Linked DNA regions of Homo sapiens: all the other regions are linked to region 4. Evidence: promoter capture Hi-C in human tissues and cell types (Jung and others, 2019). All regions are on one chromosome and are shown on one strand. The core of a region is centred on a gene start or on the middle of the fragment in contact, and the rest is flanking DNA. Distances in the headings are between cores, read along the strand shown.

The links. The method cuts DNA at HindIII sites, captures the fragments that hold promoters and counts their contacts. A contact is called where the count stands out against the background at its distance.
Region 1: a fragment that was not itself captured here is called in contact with the fragment with the promoter of GDF6 in region 4 in 2 of the 25 tissues and cell types used here (lymphoblastoid cells and mesenchymal stem cells).
Region 2: a fragment that was not itself captured here is called in contact with the fragment with the promoter of GDF6 in region 4 in 1 of the 25 tissues and cell types used here (lymphoblastoid cells).
Region 3: a contact is called between a fragment that was not itself captured here and the fragment with the promoter of GDF6 in region 4, in 1 of the 25 tissues and cell types used here (lymphoblastoid cells).
Region 5: a contact is called between a fragment that was not itself captured here and the fragment with the promoter of GDF6 in region 4, in 1 of the 25 tissues and cell types used here (dorsolateral prefrontal cortex).

Annotation. Positions count from the first base shown.
Region 1 is chr8:95,529,240-95,531,939 of GRCh38, reverse strand. The region is part of intron 2 of CFAP418-AS1 (CFAP418 antisense RNA 1); the gene reads right to left. Among named protein-coding and RNA genes, the nearest start is that of TRS-AGA2-5, 260 kb to the right of the region's middle. The HindIII fragment of the contact is 6,368 bases long and covers 1-2,700 here.
Region 2 is chr8:95,235,026-95,237,725 of GRCh38, reverse strand. No RefSeq gene overlaps it. Among named protein-coding and RNA genes, the nearest start is that of LINC01298, 20 kb to the right of the region's middle. The HindIII fragment of the contact is 6,913 bases long and covers 1-2,700 here.
Region 3 is chr8:95,438,770-95,441,469 of GRCh38, reverse strand. All of the region lies in intron 2 of CFAP418-AS1 (CFAP418 antisense RNA 1), which reads right to left. Among named protein-coding and RNA genes, the nearest start is that of TRS-AGA2-5, 170 kb to the right of the region's middle. The HindIII fragment of the contact is 3,815 bases long and covers 1-2,700 here.
Region 4 is chr8:96,159,374-96,162,073 of GRCh38, reverse strand. GDF6 (growth differentiation factor 6) reads left to right here and starts at 1,268. Exons shown (of 2, transcript NM_001001557.4): 1 at 1,268-1,787. The coding sequence starts at 1,382. The HindIII fragment of the contact is 22,921 bases long and covers 1-2,700 here.
Region 5 is chr8:95,403,430-95,406,129 of GRCh38, reverse strand. The region is part of intron 2 of CFAP418-AS1 (CFAP418 antisense RNA 1); the gene reads right to left. Among named protein-coding and RNA genes, the nearest start is that of TRS-AGA2-5, 140 kb to the right of the region's middle. The HindIII fragment of the contact is 3,195 bases long and covers 1-2,700 here.

The sequences.
Region 1 (2,700 bases), core at 159-2,658, 630 kb after region 4:
TCATAGTGCTTGGGGCAATACTCTTAACTTTTAATAACTCCATGAGACCCATACAAAGTGTCACTAGCGATGCTGAAAAGTCCTCCCAAAAAGCAGAGAAAAGTCACGATGTTAGAAGAAAAAGTTGAATTGCTTCATATGTACTGTAGATTAAGGTCTGCAGCTGCTGTTGCCTACCATTTCAAGATAAATGAATCCAGCGTAAGAACCACAATAAAACAAAGAAAAGGAAATTCACTAATCTATCACTGCAGCTACACCAGCCAGCACAAAAACCTTGTACTTTTTGCAAAATACCTTTTTATCTCATATTAAAAATGTAGCTTTTATATGGTTACAGGATTTCTATAAGAAAGGCATACCTATAGATTCTAATACGATTCTAGAAAAACAAAGTCATTATGTGACAACTGAAAGCAAAAGGAAGGTGAAGGATCTAAACCTAGAGAATTTAATGCCAGCAAAGGATGGTTTGATAATTTTAGGAAGAGATTTGACTTAAAAACTGTCAATATAACAGGAGAGGCTGGGCGCAATGGCAGACGTGAGTTCCCAGGCACCATTAAGGAAATCATTAAGGAGAAAGGACATCACACCCAGTACCCTATGAAAAGAATTGTCAATCATTGAGGAGAAAGGACATCTATCTAAACAGGTTTCTAACACAGGTAAAAGCAGCTTATTCTGGGGGAAAAAAAAAAAAAAGCAATCAAAGACATTTATTGCTAAGGAAGAGAAGCAAGCACCAGGATTTAAGGCAGGAAGAGATAGGATAACTGCCATTTTGTGCAAATGCAGTAGGTTTATAATCAGGACTGCCCTTATCTCTGAATCTGCTAATCTCTGGGCTTTGAATGGGAAAGATAAACACCACCTGCCAGGCTTTTAGTTGCACAAGAAGGTCTGAATAACAAGAACACTTTTTCTGGATTGGTTCCACTGATGTTTTGTCCCTGAAGTCAGGAAGTACCTTGCCAGAAAGGGACTGACTTTTAAAGTTCTTTTCATATGAGACAATGTCCTTGGCCACCCAGAACCCCATGAGTTCAACATTGAAGGCACTGAAGTGGTCTACTTGCTCCCAAACATAAGGTCCCTAATTCAGCCTCTAGATCTGACGTCATATGGACCTTTAAGGCTCATCACACGCAGTACTCTATGAAAAGAATACATGTACCCTAAAACTTAAAGTATAATAAAGAAAAAAAAAAGAATTGTCAATGCTATGGAAAAACCCCTGATAGAGAGAACATCATGAAGTCTAGAAAGATTACACCAATGATGATGAAAATGTCATTGTTCTTATATAATGGAAAAAGCTGTGAATGTCATCAAGCCTGAAACAATAAATTCCTGCTGGAAAAGACTGTGTCCAGATCTTGTGCATGACTTCACAGAACTTATAATGGAGCCAATCAAGGAAACAATGAAAAAGATTGTGGATAGGGCGAGAAAGGCAGGGCCTGAAGGGTTTCAAGATACAGGTCTTGGAGAAATACAAGAGCTAACAGATACCACACCAGAGAAATTAACAGAAGATGACTTAATGGAGACGAGTGTTTCAAAACCAGTGCCAGAAGAGCAGGAAGAAGACATAGAAGAAGCAGTGCCAGAAAACAAATTAATATTAAACAAACTGGCAGAAAGAAGGGTTTCAATGATTCAAGGCTGTTTTTGACTTCCTTTACAATATTGACCCTTCTATGATATGGGCACTGAAGCTAAAGCAAACAGTGGAAGAAGGATTGGTACTACATAGGAACATTTTTAGAGAAATGAAAAAAATAAGTCAGATAGAAATTATGATGTATTTCCATAAAGTTACATCGAGCATGCCTGTCTCTCCTGCCTCCCCTTCCACCTTCTCCACTTCTTCTGCCTATGCCATTCCTGAGATAGTAAGAGTAACCCCTCATCTTTTCCGTCTCTTCCTCCTCAGCCTACTCAACGTGAAGATGACAAGAATGAAGACATTTATGATAATCCACTTCCAGTTAATGAGGAGTAACTATATTTCGTCTTCCTTATGATTTTCTTAATAGCATTTTCTTTTCTCTAGCTTATTGTAAGAATACAGTATATAACACATATGACATGCAGAATATGTGTTTATAGACTGTTTATGTTATTAAAGCTTCCAGACAACATAAGCTATTAGTAATTGAGTTTTGGAACAGTCAAAAGTTGTACACTGATTTTCTACTGTGGAAGGAGTTGACACCCATAACCCCCATGTTGTTCAAGGTTCAACTGTATAAATATATAAGTACTGCTTTATCTGCATTGAATAAATCTGATACATAATATTTTCCTTTTTATTCCATTCTATTTTCCACATTTCATTTTTATTTTTCTTTGACCCATGAGCTATTTTGTCTTTAAATTTTAAAACGTGTGATTGTACTTCATTAATCTTTTTGTAGTATATTTCTAACTTAGTTGCATTGTGATCAGAGAATACAGTCTGCATAACAGTTCTATAAAATTTAATCAGACATATTGCAGTAACTAGTCAGTTTTCATAAATGTTCGGTGGATGCTTGAAAAGGATAATTTTTCTCTAATGGCTTGGTATTGGAGTCAAAGTATCAAGTCTGATGACTGTGTTGGGTAAATGTTCTTTATCCTAATTAATTTTTCTGTTTGAGTTATCAGTTGGTAAGCGTTATTTTAATATTGCTTATAATGATGGTGGTTTTA
Region 2 (2,700 bases), core at 131-2,630, 920 kb after region 4:
GTACAGCCAGGGTTACAATCCACTAACAGCAATAAGACCTTGGGCATATCACTTCCCTCTTTGGGCTTTAGTATCCTCACCTATTAAAAAACAATTCTCTAAGAGTCCTTACTGCCAGTATAAAAATATGAGGTTATACTAAGTGATTTTTAATGTCCCTCCCAGAATAAAAGTTCCATGAATCTCTTTTCATAATGTAATCATTCAGAAAAGATTATTTCATTTAGGTTGAGTGTGTATTATGATCAATGTTTCTTTTAGTCCCCTAGAAACAGTCAATGCCAACTTCAAGGTTTGAGTTCCCTAATGACCAATTCACTTTACACAGAAAAAAGTAACAGCCTCCAAAGGTTGACAATACCAATTCCTCCCACTAGGAGAAGTATCTTAGAGTGCGTGGCCCTCTAGAAAGTGAGTCACTGGCACCATCTTCCATTGCAAAGAGCAGCACTTATTAGCAATGTTAGATAGAAAGCAGGACTCTAGAAAGTGGATGGAAAAAATAAAGAAAGTACATAACATAGAAACCATTTTAAGTTCTTAGAGTCAAGTAAAATTGACATTCACAGGTATGTAGGAAAAATTGTAAAAGATCTCTCAAAGAATATAATGTTTTATCCTTACATAATTTTTTGAGGGATGGGGGATTAGACAAGAGTTTTCCCCATGGAGTAAGGTATATTCTATCATAAATAGCTATAGCCTCAGCCTCTGGTGGTGGAAGGACCCCACAAACGCTTTTCAAGTCCCTTCCATCTGGCCTTGGTTTTCCTCCACAGCTGACTATGCACTAAAGGACTTCTTTCCACTCTTTCCACTCAGATTTTAAGGAACAGTTTTAGGTATTGTATTCGGTTACTAGCACAAATTTATTCTGAAATAGCCTAGGTCCAGTGATAAATCAAGGGAGTGAGAAGGAAAGGATTTGCATGGCCCATGACCCTGCCCCCAACCTTGAAGGCACAGATAATGTGTGCACTCATGATGCTCAGCACCACGTCCTCGGCAAAGGAGCTCCAGGCCACTTCTTGCCTTTGCCCCTGTTAATAAGCAGAGTCTCACATTAACAGGCTGCTGCATTGTGTGAGGTTATGAGCACAGGCCTGGGGTTAGACTGCCTTGATTTGAATACTGGCCCTATACCTTATGTGGCATGTGATGTTCTACAGGCCACGCATCCTCCCTAAGCCTCTTCTCCCCAGCCTGTGCAACAGGGTTAAGAATGCTCACCTCACAGAGAGTGATGCTGGGAGGAAGTGGATGGGATAATCTATGTAGAGCATTTAGCGAGGCTCCTGGCACATAGTAATTACTTAATACGTGTGAATTATTTGCTGAGATCTCTGTACAATGTAAAAATGCATACCTTAAAGATGGCTTTCTGCCATGATTCTACATAGGTTTTTTCCTTCAACATTCTTCTTTTTTTGCCTTAAAATGTTTAATTCCCACCAACTTTCATCTTACAACAGGAGGCTCAAAGTGACAGATTTAAAGAGAGCCTTCAAAGCGAGGACCATTTCACTTAAATGCCCACCTGCACTGTGCTAGGCATGGCAGTGGACCCAGAGGTGCCAGACACCAGACAGGAGCAAGGGTTGGCAAAACATGGGTCATTTCCTAAGGCATTGTAATCATTGGTCTTTTACGTAAGGTGTCTTTGACTCTGCTCAGTACCAGACATCAAGTACTACAGGCATAGTCCGTGTGTTTAGGCTGTTTCACAACTGAGTGAAATTCAACAGTGGCCATCCCCCTGTTGCTCATCATTGATTGTAATGTGACCAAAATGGAAACTGCTAACCTATGTGTCAATGCTTGTGCTGGAAACATACTGCTTCCAGATAGGGGGAAAAAAGCAATTCAGTTAAACGTCTCTTTTATGGTCTATAATTCTTACTGCAACTTCAGGTCGGCTGTTGCGTCATCAAGTCACATTCTGAACCCAACTCTGGCTGTTTCTCAGGCCTGAGGGACCCAGCAAAGGAGGGAGGTCCTGAAGCAGCCTTTCCAGGGGTAGAGTTAGTGACTTACAGCGAAGAAGAAAGAGACAAATTTGTCTCCAGGGACTCAGGGTTGTAAAAGACCCACCATCCTGAGCCCTCCAAACAGTGAAACAAGTTGAGAATCTAACCCATAGCGGGCAGACCTACACTGAGGACCAGATCTCATTTCTTTGTTGGGCTTTGGTCTCTCAGGAAAAGCACCCAGAACACTTCATCCAAATCTGCCTGCTGTTAACAATATCCCATAGTGGTGGAGGTAAATGTTTTTCTCTGGCTGAAAATAGAAATCCTCCCTAGCGTAAACCCCCTGTCTTTGCTTTTAGGAGAAAAGGATAGGCACCAAATATTAGGATCTTTCCAGGGAAGTTTACCAGCCCTTTCTACACAGAAGCACTTGTCATCTTGAGCTTGTGAGCTTGAGCTTGAGCGTAAGCTTGTGGGCTTGAGCTTTCTTTCTGGGAAAGAAAAATTGGAACCTTCTAACTGATTCACTTAAATAATCAATTCCGTAGCACTTAAAGGAATCTAAGTGGATCTAAAGTTAAAGAGAAACAATGAAATGATTCCTCACTCACAATGAAAGGTTGAAAATCGAGGTAACGACCTTGGTGAGCAGAGAGAGGAAATCGCAAGGGCAAGTGGGTTAATGCTGATGGGCTTTTTGAGACCAGGAAACCATATCTTCATGACCTTT
Region 3 (2,700 bases), core at 34-2,533, 720 kb after region 4:
GTGAGACACCAACTTCCGTATAACTTGTTCCCCAAACATCAAATAGTCAAACAAATTCTAAGTCAATTTGAGGGGGTGGTTCCTGGCTAATTTAAAGCCTGAACTAAACAAATGCATGTCTCCTAAATACCCATACCAGGCATTAATCGGCCAGAGTTCCAGAAGTTTCAAGCTATGATGACAAAGACGTATACTTGGGGTGGGCAAGGAAAGAGCAGGCAAGAACCCCAACAGGGGGGCCTAGATATACTTTCAGAGCTAGCAGGAAATGATTATCAAAGCAACCAAACTGTAGGTATTCTGGCAAAATTATGGTGGTGATGGTAACTAAACGACATCTCTAATTGCACCATCAACCCCAGAAGTATAGCAAGACTGAACTGGGCTCACAGCTGGGAGAAAGTAGCCATGATGTGCTGGGTTCAGTTCAAGATTATAAATGGCAGCACCCAACAGAGGCAGCAACACATGATCCTTCCAAGTTGGTGAGAACCAGCCAGGCGCCCAAAGGGTCTCCATCTTCAGGAAGTAGAGCATTTGGTACAGGACAGTTTGTGATACTTCTTTTGAGCAATTTGCTTGCTGGTGACCTCTACACTTATTGGTCATGCTGCATATAGGGAGAAACTTCCTAGAGAAATTACCCCAAACCCCTAAATATGAGGTCAAAATGACCAACCCAGGACAACTGTGAAGGCTACTCTATTTCAGAGAGAAATTAGGACTGGCCAGGCCAGTATGAAAAGGATCAGCAGGGAAGGGGCTATGGAGGCTATGAGGTCTAGGTCTCCTGGGCCATTCCTCAGGGTTCCCTAGAGTTCCCCTTGACCTCAGCTTAGCATTTAGTGTTTTCACCCTGAAGAGTCAACTGTTGCACACCTTTCCCCTCAAAAGACTATAAGCAAGAACAATGTCATTTTCCTTTATATATTCCAGATCATTTGGCATAGAAAGGTAGCACGGTAGAGAGGAAAGAACAGTATGGAACTGAGCCCTGGCATTGAGCCCTACTCTGTCGGATAGCACAGTGGTTGAAACTAGTCTATGGAGCCAGGTTGTCTAAATTCACATCCTCCCTCTTCTTATTGACTATATGATCTTGGGCAAGTTGTTAGTCACTTTGCACCTCAGGTTTTGCACATGTCAACTGAGAATAATAATGCTCTGAGAATTAAGTGAATGTAAGCACTTACAGTAGTATTACTACTATGGTAGATCATATTATTAGTGTCCACAGCTTAACAAACTAGTACATGTTAATTTGCCCCCTAAGCTTTAATTTTCTCATCTGAAAAAAATGAGGGCATAAGATCCAATCTCACAGGATGGGATATAGGATAAAATTGGATAATGGAAGTCAGAAATATGTTGAACGAAAAATGCAATCCGAATGCTTGTGTTTCCCATTATTGTTGCACATAGTAGGCACTGGAATCAGTGATTGCTAAAATGTGGAAGCAAAACAGCCATGGAGAGATTGGATCAGATCCCCTCAAGATTCACCATCCTCAGATCTTGCACAGGAAAGTTATTTGTAAATGTGAATGCCAGACAAGTGTTCCTCGTTAGCTATGTATGGCCCTGGAGACCAAGACTGCCATGTGGTAAGATCAAATGAAGAGACAGTCCCTGCCAAGTGCGGTTCTGAGAACATCCCCTTCATGTGCCTGAGAAATGACTCCCCCGGAGGCCTCCTGCACTGCACTGGGCCCTGGCTCCCATCTTGCCCACCTCCATGAAGACCCCTGCCCTCCCTCCAGCAATCCTCCAGTCTTCCCATTCCTAGTTGGCAAGGAAGACAGAGCTCAGCACATTCCACACTCCATCCCCCTAGATCCACCCCAATGGTGTGATTCTGCCTGACTGCCCCACACAGCAGCTCTAGGAGGGTCAAAAAGGAATGTGCTCAACTTGCCAATGCTGGGGCAAAACCAAAGCCAGCATGTCCTGTCATCCAATGGAGCTTAGTGCTCTCGTCATCACCACTACAGAGACACAAAGCAGGCCCTGGGAAGAGCCTGCACCTTCCCCAGAGCCAAGGTGACCAGAAAATCACATGATGTCGTAGGTTCTCCTGCAAAAGCTGGGCCACCAACACTGGAGCCCTGGAAAGCCCTTTCCGAGTGGACGCCTGGCAAATGAGAGGGAAGAAAGGGAACTGGCAGAAAAATAGCATATGCCACTGATGTTCCCTGGCTCCACCTAAACCTTAAAAATGACTCATTTAAACTCAAATTTGTGGTAAGCTAAAATAATGACAATGAATTGGAAGGCATTCCTTCTCTAGATTTGGAGTGCCTAGAAAATTTTTGTAAAGAGATTTTGAGCAAGGACTTGGCCTCTCTGAGCTGTGTCATCTGTATAATGGGGATTAAAATACTGATTGTGCATGGGTTCTATAAAGAGAATGTACAAAAGGAAGCTGGTACATAGGATGCTTGACTATTAATAAGCCAAGTAGTTTCACCCAGTTCACAGTAGATCTTGATTACTTTTCCTTAGATGCGAGGCTCTTTCATGCAATTACCCCAAATAGCTGAAGGCTATTTGCCTGCAACTGTGCTCATGGCACACCCCAGAGCTGACATTCCCAAGACTCTTTCTGCTGGTGCCTCCATTGGTCTAACCAATTTTTACAGGTGCATTTGGAAATTGATAAATCCGTGGTGATGAACGTGCTGTTCACAGCACTATGGTCTC
Region 4 (2,700 bases), core at 19-2,518:
CACCCAATCAGTACTGAGGGAAACTCTTCTGCCCATAGCAGTCCAGGGCAGAGCACTGTGGCAGACAGAAGCAGCGCTACGCCGCATCGCCTTTCAGCGTGCAGGCCCAGGAATGAGCGAGGCAGTGGGCGGGGAAGACAGGCACGGGGAATCTGGGGACAGATAAAGGAAACTCGTGATGGGGCGAGGCTGGGCTGAAGAGAAACAGATTGGGGTAGAGCTGCAAAGGGAGGGGTCCACTGGAAGGCGAGGGGGGAGGCCGGGAAGAGAGAGGGTGGGAAGGCAGTGTGAGATGGGAGGGCAGTGTGAGAAGAAAAGCAGGCTGGGGAAGAGGGATTGGAATGCAGAAGGAACTTGGGGAAGGAGGAAGTCCTGCAGGCGGGAGGGAAAGAAGAGAGGGAAAATGGGGATGCAGTGGAGGCGGGGGGCAGGCCGCGAGAGGGAGAGGATCCCGGGAGCAGACGAAGAAGTGGAGCAGCTAAAGTCTGCGTCAGAAGAGGTTGGGGACTGCGAGAGGAGAGGCTGGGGCCTGCAGGGGAGCGCAGCAGCTTTTAGCATCGATCCAAACTCTAAAGACTCGTGGCCTTTGCCTGACCTCGAGGGTCGGGAATAGACGCCTGTCTTTGTGGAGAGCGATACCCAACCGAGAAAATGGGGCTGTTCCGAGCTGGGCCCTGCGCCTGGCCCAGGGCGAGGCTTCTCTGGCTCCGGGCTGGCCCCTGAGGGGCGCAAACGGCAGGCCTGGCGGTTGGGGCCGAGGAGGGAGGGTACCACCGCCCCGAGGCAGCACGCAGCCTGCAGCAGAGGCGCCTGCTCCAAGCTGTCTCTTGGGGGCGCCGCCGCCGCTTCCCTCCTCCGGGGCCGCTCGCTCCCAGGAAAGTGGAGGCGGCTGGCGAGGACCGAGAGCCGGGGCCGCGCTGCGGAGGGACCACACCTCCGGGAGTTCGAGGGGGACCCTGGCGCGGCGGGCCAGCCTTTGCTCCCCGGCCACGGGCCGGCAGCGCCCGCCTTCCCCCGGTCAGCGCTTGCGGCCCGCGCCGCGCGCACCGCCCGGCAACCCCGCGCGCGTCCCGCGGGGGCGCTGCGTCTTCCTGCCACACCGGCGCACCGCGGCCCCTCTCCCCCACACCTCCGGCCCGCACCACCCGGCTCTCCTCCCACCCTCCCCACCCCTCCTCTGCCCTCCCTCCCCATTCCTCCCCTCCCGGCGAGGGGCGGGAGGGGGCGTGGCGGGGCCGGGGTTTGTGTGGCTGGGACCCGGCTCCTCGCACTCCGAGTCCGCCCGAGGAGCCGGGCCCCGGCCGCTGTCCAGCCGCTCCGTGCCCCGCGCGTCCTGCGCCGCCGCCACCGCCTCCTGGGGAGACGCAGCCACTTGCCCGCCATGGATACTCCCAGGGTCCTGCTCTCGGCCGTCTTCCTCATCAGTTTTCTGTGGGATTTGCCCGGTTTCCAGCAGGCTTCCATCTCATCCTCCTCGTCGTCCGCCGAGCTGGGTTCCACCAAGGGCATGCGAAGCCGCAAGGAAGGCAAGATGCAGCGGGCGCCGCGCGACAGTGACGCGGGCCGGGAGGGCCAGGAACCACAGCCGCGGCCTCAGGACGAACCCCGGGCTCAGCAGCCCCGGGCGCAGGAGCCGCCAGGCAGGGGTCCGCGCGTGGTGCCCCACGAGTACATGCTGTCAATCTACAGGACTTACTCCATCGCTGAGAAGCTGGGCATCAATGCCAGCTTTTTCCAGTCTTCCAAGTCGGCTAATACGATCACCAGCTTTGTAGACAGGGGACTAGGTAAGTGGCAAAGAAAACGCTCGACTCCCCTCCCGCTGGAGCTCGGCAGCCAGGGAGCTGTTCCCGCTGGAGGCTACATTTGTGAATTCCCTTCCTGCTCTGGACACTTCCTTTTTACTTTTCTTAAATTGTTTTTCTCAAGCTCGAGTAAGTTTCTGAATGTGGCTGCGGATTCTATTCCAGTCTCTAAACCTCCCTTCCTTTCCCCCCCTTTCTTTCTCTCTCCCTTCTTTCCTTCTTCCTCTTTTGCAGAAGGCAGCGTGGTTGCCGCTTGTTGGTGGCTGGTGGGGGAAACGTGGAGGACGGGAGGCAGCAGGCGGATGAACCCGGCTGGAGAGGGGTCGGGATGGGGACTGATGGAATCGGTGTCTCGGGATACTGGGTTCGCAGTCCAAGGCCTGAGCTGCTGGGGCAGATCTAGGGCATGAGACAGCCTTGGAAAGCCCTGGGCAAAGCCGGCACTAGGGAGTCCCACAGTCTGAGGAACTAGTCCGCGAGCGGCGTCGGGCAGCCCCCTGGTCCTGGCGCCGCGCGGGTTTTCCGTTGGTCCCTGCGCTGGGTGGGATGGTCAGCCGGGCTGGAGCCCTGCGCCCTCCGGCTTTTTTGCTCCAGCGTGGTGCTCCCGGCTGCTCCGAGGCCTCAACACGAGTGGTTTCTGCAGATGCGGCGGCAGCAGTTGGGCGGGCCGGGACAGGGACGGCTAAGTTCGGAGGTTGTGGGTACTTAATACACAAAGGTACATGGGTATGCCCATCCACCTTTCTCAGCCAGGCGACGTTCCTCTCTCTACGCTATTCCTGAGGGCTGGTGGGGGTCTGGGAAATCCCTGGTACCCTCTGTGGGAACGCCTGCATGTGTGGGTGTCTGCGGAAACCCTTGCGGCCCCTTCTTGCCACCGGCGTTGATCTGCAGC
Region 5 (2,700 bases), core at 166-2,665, 760 kb after region 4:
TTGAAAGATGTGACTGTCTGAATGTCATCTCTCAATGCAAATCCACGGAAGAAAGCTTCAGGGGAAAAAAGGATTATCGAGGCTTTTCAAATCACTCTGGGGATACAGACAGCTCTCTCCTGTGTTACAGAGCCACCTTCCCTGTCCTGTCAAAACCATAACCCCCTCTCACCTGTCCTATGGCTGACACTCTTAGCCCAAACTTCCTCCCCCGACCACTCACAATGACACATCGACATGGCTCTCACTGTGACTCTGGAGGCAGAGAAAGAAGCAGAAGGACACCTGGGTTTTCTGCCACTGAAACTGGAACACAGTCCTTGAGAAAAAAAGATGTTAACGTCCAGCGGGACATATTTTTCCATCAAAACATTGTAAAATGAGTAGAGGTTTCACATGACGCTCATGTCTTGGTATGTGTTTGTTGTTTTTAGAATAGCAGGCCACATATCTGAAGTGATACATGCATATATGATGTAGGCGTTACCATGGCAAATGCCATGCATTTTTTTGGTTGAATAGAAGGGTAAATAAGGGTGTAAATATTGCATTTTCTGTTGTCATGGAGATGTAACAACCTGGGCCCTCATCATTTTGGAAAGTTTTTTTATTTTATTATTTGGCTTCATTCCCTGCTGTGACTCTTCCTATCAGAAAGTCTCCAGGTCCTGCCACTGCTGTAATTATGCTTACCCAACCAGCATACTAGATTTGTCCTTTCAGATGGGATATTGCTGATCCCTAGGGGAGAAATTCTTCTGTTTTTTTTCTTTGTTCCCAGATGTGAAATCTATATTTTCAACATGAAAAGTATTAATGTTGGCCGGGTGCGGTGGCCCACGCCAGCACTCTGGGAGGAGGCAGGCGGATCACTTGAAACCAGGAGTTCAAGACCAGCCTGGCCAATATGGTGAAACCCCATCCCTACTATAAATACAAAAAAAAAAAAAAAAAAGTTAGCCGGGCATGGTAGCAGGCTCCTATAATCCCAGCTAGTTGGGAAGCTGAGGCATGAGAATTGCTTGAACCCGGGAGATGGAGGTTGCAGTGAGCCAAGATCATGCCACCGCACTCTAACCTGGGCGATAGAGCGAGACTCTGTCTCAAGAGAAAAAAAAAAACAAAAAAAAAAAAAACCAGTATTAATGTTAAAAACATGTCAATACGTCACAATTGTCTTTAGTCTGCCTGGCTATAAAGAAGGGTGTCTTTTCCCAGTCTTGAAGGGTTTTTTAAATATTTTTAAACAAAGTGCTTTAATTCCTAATTCTGTATGTCAGCATAGAAAGCCAGATGTTTAATGTTTGCAGAGTCCTGACATCTCCATCACCGTCATTGACTTAGATGTTTCTAGCATGTAAGCTAGAACCTGTGGTTTAGCATCTGCTAAACTTGTCTGTAGTCTACAGTGAACAAAACTCTAGATTTGGAAACTTAGATTACTTATTCTAAAATATGCCGGTTTGCTTATTACCAACTAACAAGCATATTGGACAAGCACTGAAACATTTAAGGAGCACCTACAATGTTCCAGGCATTGTACAATGCATGGGGAATTCAAAAATAAGTAAAGCACAGTCCCTCCCCCTAAGGAACTTGTCTTGTTGATAAAACACCAAGGTGTTTCTTTGAATTTTTATGTAGGGCTGAAGTTGGATTTAATTGCCTCTAAGGTTTCTTCTAATCCTAAGATTCTTAGATGCTAAACTTTAAATTTAATTCTACAATGAAGTTCAAGGCTAAATTAACACTAACATCAAAAATTTACAGTTTATTTTGTAGTTGCTACTGGTAACAAAAACTAATTTGACTATACTTTTGCTCATTGAAAGAGGTGGTTAGGCCATGGAGGCACAGTCTGATTACACTGTGTTCTCTTCCAGACCCCAACCAGCTAAATAAGTGCCAACAAGAAGACAGACCCACTCTAGCCAGAGACGAGGCAGCCCAGAGCAAGGTGGGTCCAAAAGGAGTATCTCCAATGATTACCTCCAGAGTGGAAGAATTGGCTACCTTCAATCTGTGGCAAACAAGCTTTATCCACCACACCCCTTACCTATTCATGTTATAGATATTTGACATTGTCCCTGGTCTAATCATTCAGACTTGGCACTTCAGTGTCATCTTGAATTCCTTCTTCTTCCTTGTCTCCAACTCCCAAAGTACTACATATGATTTTTGTTTGAAGTGAACATAAACTCAAGATTTTATTGTCTTCATGATAAAAGATGACACTTAGAACTGGATCACTTGGCCCTTTCTCTTCTTATCTCCTCCCAGTTCAAAATGCTTGCATCTTTTAATAGCCAGCAATCTCTTAGATCTGCAGAAGTACTACATATGATTCTATATTGTGTGTGAATGCATGCACATATGTGCATGCATGGGGAGACTTGAAAAGTACACACTGTGATTCAGATATTGCAAAAAAAAAAAAAAAAAAAAAAAAAGTCTTTTATTTTGTTATAACGACTCTACTTTTTTTGAGCCCCCACATCTGCTGATGGCAGAAAAACAAAAATATTCAAAGCAGCCAATTAAAACCACTCAAAGTTTAAACTCCATGTGAGGACAGCTTCTTCCCTCTTGAGAGGTCTTTCTCCCTCTCCTCATTCCCATGAAGTGCCAGCATTTCCCCCAGCAGTGAAGGGGGCCCTGCAGACCTAGGTCCAGGCTATCCTCTGCTGAGATGTTCCTCAT